2 separate regions of the Homo sapiens genome follow, and region 1 is linked to region 2. Evidence: promoter capture Hi-C in 16 types of primary human blood cells and fetal thymus (Javierre and others, 2016). All regions are on one chromosome and are shown on one strand. The core of a region is centred on a gene start or on the middle of the fragment in contact, and the rest is flanking DNA. Distances in the headings are between cores, read along the strand shown. Region 1 overlaps SLC12A9-AS1 (SLC12A9 antisense RNA 1). Region 2 holds the start of SAP25 (Sin3A associated protein 25).

Region 1 (3,748 bases), core at 1,231-3,730, 270 kb before region 2:
TCCGCATCCCAGGTTCAACTGATTCTCCTGCCTCAGCCTTGGAGTAGCTGGGATGACAGGTGTCTGCCACCATGCCTGGCTAGTTTTTGTATTTTTAGCAGAGACAGGGTTTCACCATGTTCTCCAGGCTGGTCTCAAACTGCTGCCCTCAGTTGATCCACCCACCTCAGCCTCCCAAAGTGCTGGGATTACAGGTGTGAGCCACCGCACCCGCCCTGGGTCCTCTTCTTGACTGGGTCTCAATGTTGTGTTCCACTCCCTCCACATCCCACTGCCTTGCCAGGCCTGCCTAGCCCAGTTTAGAGTGAATCTGGGAGGTTGAGGGTGCAGTGAGCTGTGATCGCACCACTGCACTCCAACCTGGTTGACAGAGCAAGACCCCACTTAAAAAAGACATTTAAGCTAGGTAAGAAGGGAAGTGAAGGCTGGGCACGGTGGCTCACACCTGTAATCCCAGCACTTTGGGAGGCCGAAGCAGGAGGATCACTTGAGGTCAGGAGTTCAAGACCAGCCTGGCCATCATGGTGAAACCCCATCTCTACTAAAAATACAAAAATTAGCTGGGCCTGGTGGTACACGCCTGTAATTCCAGCTACTCGGGAGGTTCAGGCACTCCCACCTAGGCGACAGAGCAAGAGTCCATCTCAAAAAAAAAAAAACAAAAAACTAACCAAACAAAAAAACTCTCCTTATATTAGTTGTCTATCCTAGCTCTTTCTTTCTTTCTTTCTTTCTTTCTTTTCTTTCTTTCTTTCCTTTTTTTTGAGATGGAGTCTAGCTCTGTCACCCAGGCTGGAGTGCAGTGGCACGATCTCGGCTCACTGCAAGCTCTGCCTCCCAGGTTGAAGCGATTCTCCTGCCTCAGCCTCCCAAGTAGCTGGGACTACAGGCTCCCGCCACCACGCACGGCTAATTTTTTGTATTTTTAGTGGAGACGGGGTTTCACCGTGTTAGCCAGAATGGTCTCGATCTCCTGACCTCGTGATCCGCCCGCCTTGGCCTCCCAAAGTGCTGGAATTACAGGCGTGAACCACTGCGCCCAACCTCTTTTCAACATTTATACCCAGTCCCTTCACGATCTCATCCAGTCTCATAGTTCTATTTTTTCTGTATTTATTTATTATTTATTTATTTATTTATTTATTTATTTTTGAGACTTGGTCTCACTCTGTCGCCTAGGCTGGAGTACAGTGGCACCATCATAGCTCACAGCAACCTCTATCTCCCAGGCTCAAGCAATCCTCCTGCCTCAGCCTCCTGAGTAGCTATAGGCACATGCACCCATGCCTGGCTAATTTTTTATATTTTGTAGAGACAGGTTCTCACTATGTTGCCCAGGCTGGTCTTGAACTGTTGGGCTCAAGTAATCTTCCCACCTCAGCCTCCCAAAATGCTGGGATTACAGACATGAGCCACCGCACCCGGCCCAATCTGTTTTAATACCATCTATATGATAGTGCCTCCAAGGGTGTACCTCTAGCCCAGACCTCTACTCTGAACTTCAGGCTGTATAGCCAACAATCTACTACCATCTTTTTCTATTTTTTTTTTTTTTTTTTTTTTTTTGAGATGGAGTCACTCTGTCGCCCAGGCTGCAGTGCAGTGGTGAGAGCTCTGCTCACTGCAACTTCCACCTCCCGGGTTCAAGCGATTCTCCTGCCTCCGCCTCTCAAGTAGCTGGGATTACAGGCACGTGCCACCATGCCTGGCTCATTTTTGTATTTTTAGTAGTGATGGGGTTTCGCCATGTTGGCCAGGCTGGTCTTGAACTCCTGACCTCACGTGATCCGCCCACCTTGGCCTCCCACAGTGTTAGGATTACAGGCGTGAGCCATGGCACCCGGCTCTACTACCATCTCTGCTTGGACATCAAATGGGCAACTCAAGCTTGGTATGTCCAAAACTAAATACTCAAACTCCCACCACCTGCTCCTCCTGTGGTCCTCTCAGGCCGGAAACCTGGGGTTACACCGGAATACTCTCACATCCAACATCCACACCATAGACAATTCCTTTGGCCTCCACTTTCAAGTTATAACCAGTCTGCAACCACATTTTACCACCCAAGTCCAAGCCACCATCACCTCTTCCGCTTTCACAATAGCCTCCTAACTGGTTTTCCCACTTCTGCACTTGTCCCAAAATCTATTCTCAGCTGAGCAGCTAGAGGGGTGCTGTTTAGGTAAACATCCATTCCCGATGGGTGCCACCTTTCATAATTCTCCAATGACATGCCTTTCTCCTCAAAGCAAAAGCCAAAGGCCACATCTGTAAATATGATGGCCTGACTCACCAACTACAGTCCTGCTGTATGCCTGATGCCTTGACTTCAATATTAACAGCATCTCCCGGCTGGGCGCGGTGGCTCACGCCTGTACTCCCACCATTTGGGGAGGCCAAGGCGGGTGGATCACTTGAGGTCAGGCGTTTAGGACCAGCCTGGCCAACATTGTATTTCCATTAATGTAGCAGGACGAGCCGCAGACAAAACTCCTCAGACACTGAGTTAAAGAAGGAAGGGGTTTATTCGGCCGGGGGCATCGGCAAGACTCTTGTCTCAAGAGCCAAGCTCCTCGAGTGAGCAATTCCTGTCTTTTTTAAGGGCTCACAACTCTCAGGGGGCGCGCAAGAGAGGGTCTTGATCGATTGAGCAAGCAGGGGGTACGTGACTGGGGGCTGCATGCACCGGTAATTAGATTGGAAGAAAACAGGACAGGGATTTTCACAGTGCTTTTCTATACAATGTCTATAATCTATAGATAACATAACCGATTAGGTCAGGGGTCGATCTTTAACTACTAGGCCTAGGGTGTGGCACCAGGCTGTCTGCTTGTGGATTTTATTTCTGCCTTTTAGTTTTTACTTTTTCTTTCTTTGGAGGCAGAAATTGGGCATAAGACAATATGAGGGGCGGTCTCTTCCTTTATTCCTCCCCTTTGAGACTCACTCAATAGTGGAAGTTCTCACTTTCATTCTCACTACCCATGTCTTCTTGCACGACAGATCGATAGTGATTCATATAGTACACTTGTGCTGAAGCATTTTGGTGAACTAAGGTAGCGATGAAGCTTTTTTTTTTTTTTGAGACGGAGTCTCACTTTGTCGCCCAGGCTAGAGTGCAGTGGCGCGATCTCGGCTCACTGCCAGCTCCGCCTCCTGGGTTCATGCCATTCTCCTGCCTCAGCCTCCCGAGTAACTGGGACTACAGGCGCCCGCCACCACGCCCGGCTCATTTTTTTGTATTTTTAGTAGAGACAGGGTTTCACCGTGTTAGCCAGGATGGTCTCCATCTCCTGACCTCGTGATCCACCCGCCTCGGCCTCCCAAAGTGCTGGGATTACAGGCGTGAGCCACCGCGCCCGGCCTGCAATGAAGCTTTTTATCATTTGAAGAAGTACAGGTAGCAAACAAAGGAGCAGTAAGCAGGTTCCTATTACTATTATAACTCTTATTATAAGACTTTTAAATTCTCTTAGCACTGGGAACCATTTTCTAAACATGGCCTCAGGATCAAATCCATGCCACACTTGCCTAGGCACATGTGCCAGTTTTGTCATATCTCTATGTCTTCAACTACTTGCCTTTGATTATCTATGTGTAGGCAGCAATTAGTAAGGTTAAATTTCTTACAGACCTCTCCTTCAGCTGCTAGCAAGTAGTCGAGAGCTAATCTATTTTGATAGAGAGCATTTCTCATCTGAGTTTCTTGCCGGCCTAGAATAGTCAAGGCTCTGCTGGTTTTATTAGT
Region 2 (3,725 bases), core at 1,220-3,719:
GTGGTGAGCAGTGGAGGCAGCCCCATGCCCCCCTTTTTCTCCTAGGCCCTTCCTCACCAGACTCTGTCCTGAGACCTCGGCGGTACCCCCAGGTTCCAGATGAGAAGGACTTAATGACTCAGCTGCGCCAGGTGAGCAGAGGCGGGAGCTGCGTGGGCAGGGGCCTGGGCCGGGCACCTCCTTGTGTTGCTGTCCTTGGGACCAGCCTCCCTCCACATCCTCTGTGCCCACTCTGGCACCTCCCCTGAGGACAGGAAGGGACAGGCACAAGTTCCCTGCTAGCCCTGAGCCCCCCACTCTCCCTGCCTCCCAGACGCCTCTCCTTCCCTGACCCCTGCTCTATGTGGTCTACACTGCCAGGTCCTTGAGTCCCGGCTGCAGCGGCCCCTGCCTGAGGACCTGGCCGAGGCTCTGGCCAGTGGGGTCATCCTGTGCCAGCTGGCCAACCAGCTACGGCCGCGCTCCGTGCCCTTCATCCATGTGCCCTCCCCTGCTGTGGTCAGTTGGGGCTGGGGAAGAGGTGGGGGATGGGCCGGGGCGCCTGTGGCCTCTCCCTTACCACATTTTCTTCTTTCACCCACCCCAGCCAAAACTCAGTGCCCTCAAGGCTCGGAAGAATGTGGAGAGTTTTCTAGAAGCCTGTCGAAAAATGGGGGTGCCTGAGGTATGGGGGCTGCTTTCTAAAGAGTGGTGGCATGCCGGACTCAGCCGAGCATGTGGCATGGATGGTGGGCTTCCATTTGCAGCGGATGTCTGCTCTCAGATGAAGGCACAGGCTGCCCCTGCCCTGCCCAGCATGCCCCCTGCCCTGCATGCCCCCTGCCCTGCATGTCACCTGTCCTACACATCCCCTGCCCTGCAGGCCCCATCTTGTCCTGCATGTCACCTGTCCTGCACATGCCCTGCCCTGCACTCCTCCTGCACTGCACTCCCCCTGCCCAGCACGTCAGCATGTGGGCGTGGTTCTGGCCCCAGCACGTGAGGGCAGGGGTGGGAGGGACTGTCCTGCTGCTGCTGCTGACGTCTGTCCCTTGTCCTTGTCCACCTGCTCTCCTCTCCCCCAGGCTGACCTGTGCTCGCCCTCGGATCTCCTCCAGGGCACTGCCCGGGGGCTGCGGACCGCGCTGGAGGCCGTGAAGCGGGTGGGGGGCAAGGCCCTACCGCCCCTCTGGCCCCCCTCTGGTCTGGGCGGCTTCGTCGTCTTCTACGTGGTCCTCATGCTGCTGCTCTATGTCACCTACACTCGGCTCCTGGGTTCCTAGGCCCCAAAATCGGCCCTCCCTCACCCCTTTCCCTTCCTCTCTATTTATAAGGTCCCTGCTCCACCCGACCCCACCTGCGGTGCCTTCAGCCCCAACCAAAGACACTAGTGCACCCCCTTCACAGACACTGACCTCAGAGGCCCCACTCTGGTGCCCCCAGACCCTGGGCCCCCAGCCTCTGGCCTCCCTCCAGTAGCCCCACGAGTCCCCACCTCTCAGTGCTGACGGTGCCTTCATGTCCCCGCCGGCCCTGCCCCTGCCCTCTGTACCCCGTGAGGGGTGGCAGGAGCTGGAGTCTCCCCCTTCCTCCTGTGCCCTCCCCTTCCCCCCCCAACAGCTGCTATGGGGGGGCTAAATTATCTCTATTTTGTAGAGAGGATCTATATTTGTAGGGGTTCGGGGCCCAGGCCGGGTCCCTATCTCTGTGTATAAACTGTACAGACCGTGGCCGCCCTGCCTGTGTGTGTGTGTGTGCGCGCGCGCGCGCGTCTGCTCCGCGTGTTGGTGGCTGTGGCCATGGCTCTGTGCCCACCAGCATCTCCCTCCTGAGATGCCGGCCTCTCATGCTCCCGGAGCGTCCGCCAACCCCCCGTGTCACCTCCCTTCTGTTATCGCTGACAGCTTTCTTGCGTCTCATTTGTCGCCGAGCCCCGAGCGCACGGTGATGCTCGGGTCTGCCCCCGACCCCCTGCCACAGGCCGGAAGCCGCAGGGGGCACCGTGGGGAAGCTAACCCGGCCCCTTCCCCCAGGAGTCACTGTGCCAGCCCCACCACATCCTGGAAGAGGAGGGGGCCCCGGGAAGGGGCCTCCCCTACATCGCTGCTGTCGTCCACGCCCTGCTGGACCGGCCTTAGGGGTGAAGGTGGGGGCACAGGGCCCACCCCGCCCGGGACCCCGGGAGCAGAAGACGCGCCTGGGCTCCGCGCTCTCAGAGAAGCACGTGGTGAGGGTGGCCTGGGCCTGGGCACCCTTGGCCTGCCGGCCTGGCTGCCTCTGGGGTCGAGGGTCTGGGTGGAAGGACCGCGGGTGTCGCAGGTGTCGTGTCAGCCGCAATAAACAGAAGCCAGAAGCCCTCTGGGTGGCCCTCAGGTGTAACTGTGTCTGAGAGCACGTGCGTCGCGGGGTTGTTGGGGGGGCCTCTGTTTCCGGAATTCACCGCCCAGTCGCCAGGGGGCGCCCGCGGGAGCCCGGCGGGGGCACGCGCCACGTGGCCGGGAGACGCACAGGGCGCCAGCGTCGCCGCGAGGCCTCTGGGGTGGGTTCGCCAGGAGGGCACGTTCGCGCCGCGCCGCGGAGGGAGGCTGAGAGGGCCGGGCCGGGCGGCGGGGACACGGCGGTACCGTCCTGCGCTCGGGAACGCGGAATGTTGCCCTGGTCGCCGCCGCGGTGGGGCGCGGGCCCGGAGGAGGCGCCCGAGGGACCAGGCCTTCCGGCGGGCAAGGACCAGGGCGAGCCCTGGAGCGCCGGAGCGGACGCCCCCAGGGAGCTGGGGACACCCCCATGGGACAGGTGAGGGGCTCGGACGGAGCCGTGGGGGGACAGCGACTGGGGGCCTCCATGCCTTCACCACGCGCTCTACGGAGGCTTCTCCATTGTCCCTGCTGGAGATTGGGTCCCTCGGTCTCCCTTGCACCAGGCACCCTTGGGCTCCAGGGGAGGGTGCGTGGGGGCGGTGTGGCTGCAGCCTCAGTCCCTGCCCCTCCAGCCCACAGCCCCCATCCCGTAGCCCTTCCTGGATCTGGAGAGAGCAGCTGCTGCTGCCCCACCACCTGCCAGGCCCGGCCACTGAGCAGCCCCCCGGAGCCCCAGGTAGGACAGGCCCTGCTGCCTCTACTACCCCTAAGAGCCTCTCACTGACTGTGAGCCTGTTATAATCCCCAAGCGTCCCCCCAGATCCCCGTTCCCCCCAGGTGGCCTGGGAGGTGGCCCCCTCGAGGATGACTCCACTAGCGCCCTGGGACCCCAAGTATGAAGCCAAAGCAGGACCTCGGCCGGTGTGGGTGAGTTGGGGGCAAACCTGTGGGACTGGCTGGGGTGCTCAGGGAGCTGTGCGGTGGCCTGAGGCTCCAGTGCTCTGTCCTCCTCACCCTAGGGGGCCAACTGTAGCTCAGGAGCCTCGTTCTCAGGCCGGACGCTGTGTCACCCCTCATTCTGGCCGCTGTATGAAGCAGCCTCGGGCAGGGGTCTCAGGCCCGTGGCCCCTGCCACAGGGCACTGGAATGGACAGCAGGCGCCCCCAGATGCAGGTACCTCCCTTGGTCCCCCGGGGGCGCAAGGCTGCCCCAACTCCTCTGGGAACCAGTGCCCAGGGGTGGGAGCCCGCAGCCCGCCACCCTAGTGGTGTTTCCTCCTAGGGTTCCCGGTGGTGTGCTGTGAAGATGTCTTCCTCTCGGACCCTCTGCTGCCCCGGGGGCAGCGTGTTCCCCTGTACCTGTCCAAGGCCCCCCAGCAGGTGAGAGCTC

The links. The method cuts DNA at HindIII sites, captures the fragments that hold promoters and counts their contacts. A CHiCAGO score of 5 or more calls a contact.
Region 1: a fragment that was not itself captured here is called in contact with the fragment with the promoter of SAP25 in region 2 in 9 of 17 cell types (total B cells, total CD8 T cells, naive B cells and 6 more); the score reaches 8.7 in total B cells.

The regions. Positions count from the first base shown.
Region 1 is chr7:100,845,902-100,849,649 of GRCh38, reverse strand. The region is part of intron 1 of SLC12A9-AS1 (SLC12A9 antisense RNA 1); the gene reads left to right. It also overlaps a transcript of SLC12A9 not described here. Among named protein-coding and RNA genes, the nearest start is that of SLC12A9-AS1, 4.8 kb to the left of the region's middle. The HindIII fragment of the contact is 1,181 bases long and covers 1,890-3,070 here.
Region 2 is chr7:100,572,644-100,576,368 of GRCh38, reverse strand. It overlaps SAP25 (Sin3A associated protein 25), which reads left to right and starts at 2,469. Exons shown (of 6, transcript NM_001348680.2): 1 at 2,469-2,772; 2 at 2,969-3,072; 3 at 3,157-3,263; 4 at 3,356-3,509; 5 at 3,618-3,715. The coding sequence starts at 2,627. LRCH4 (leucine rich repeats and calponin homology domain containing 4) reads left to right here. Exons shown (of 18, transcript NM_002319.5): 15 at 46-131; 16 at 361-498; 17 at 587-664; 18 at 1,065-2,358. The coding sequence ends at 1,262. RefSeq lists enhancers at 497-1,050, 1,051-1,605. The HindIII fragment of the contact is 23,848 bases long and covers 1-3,725 here.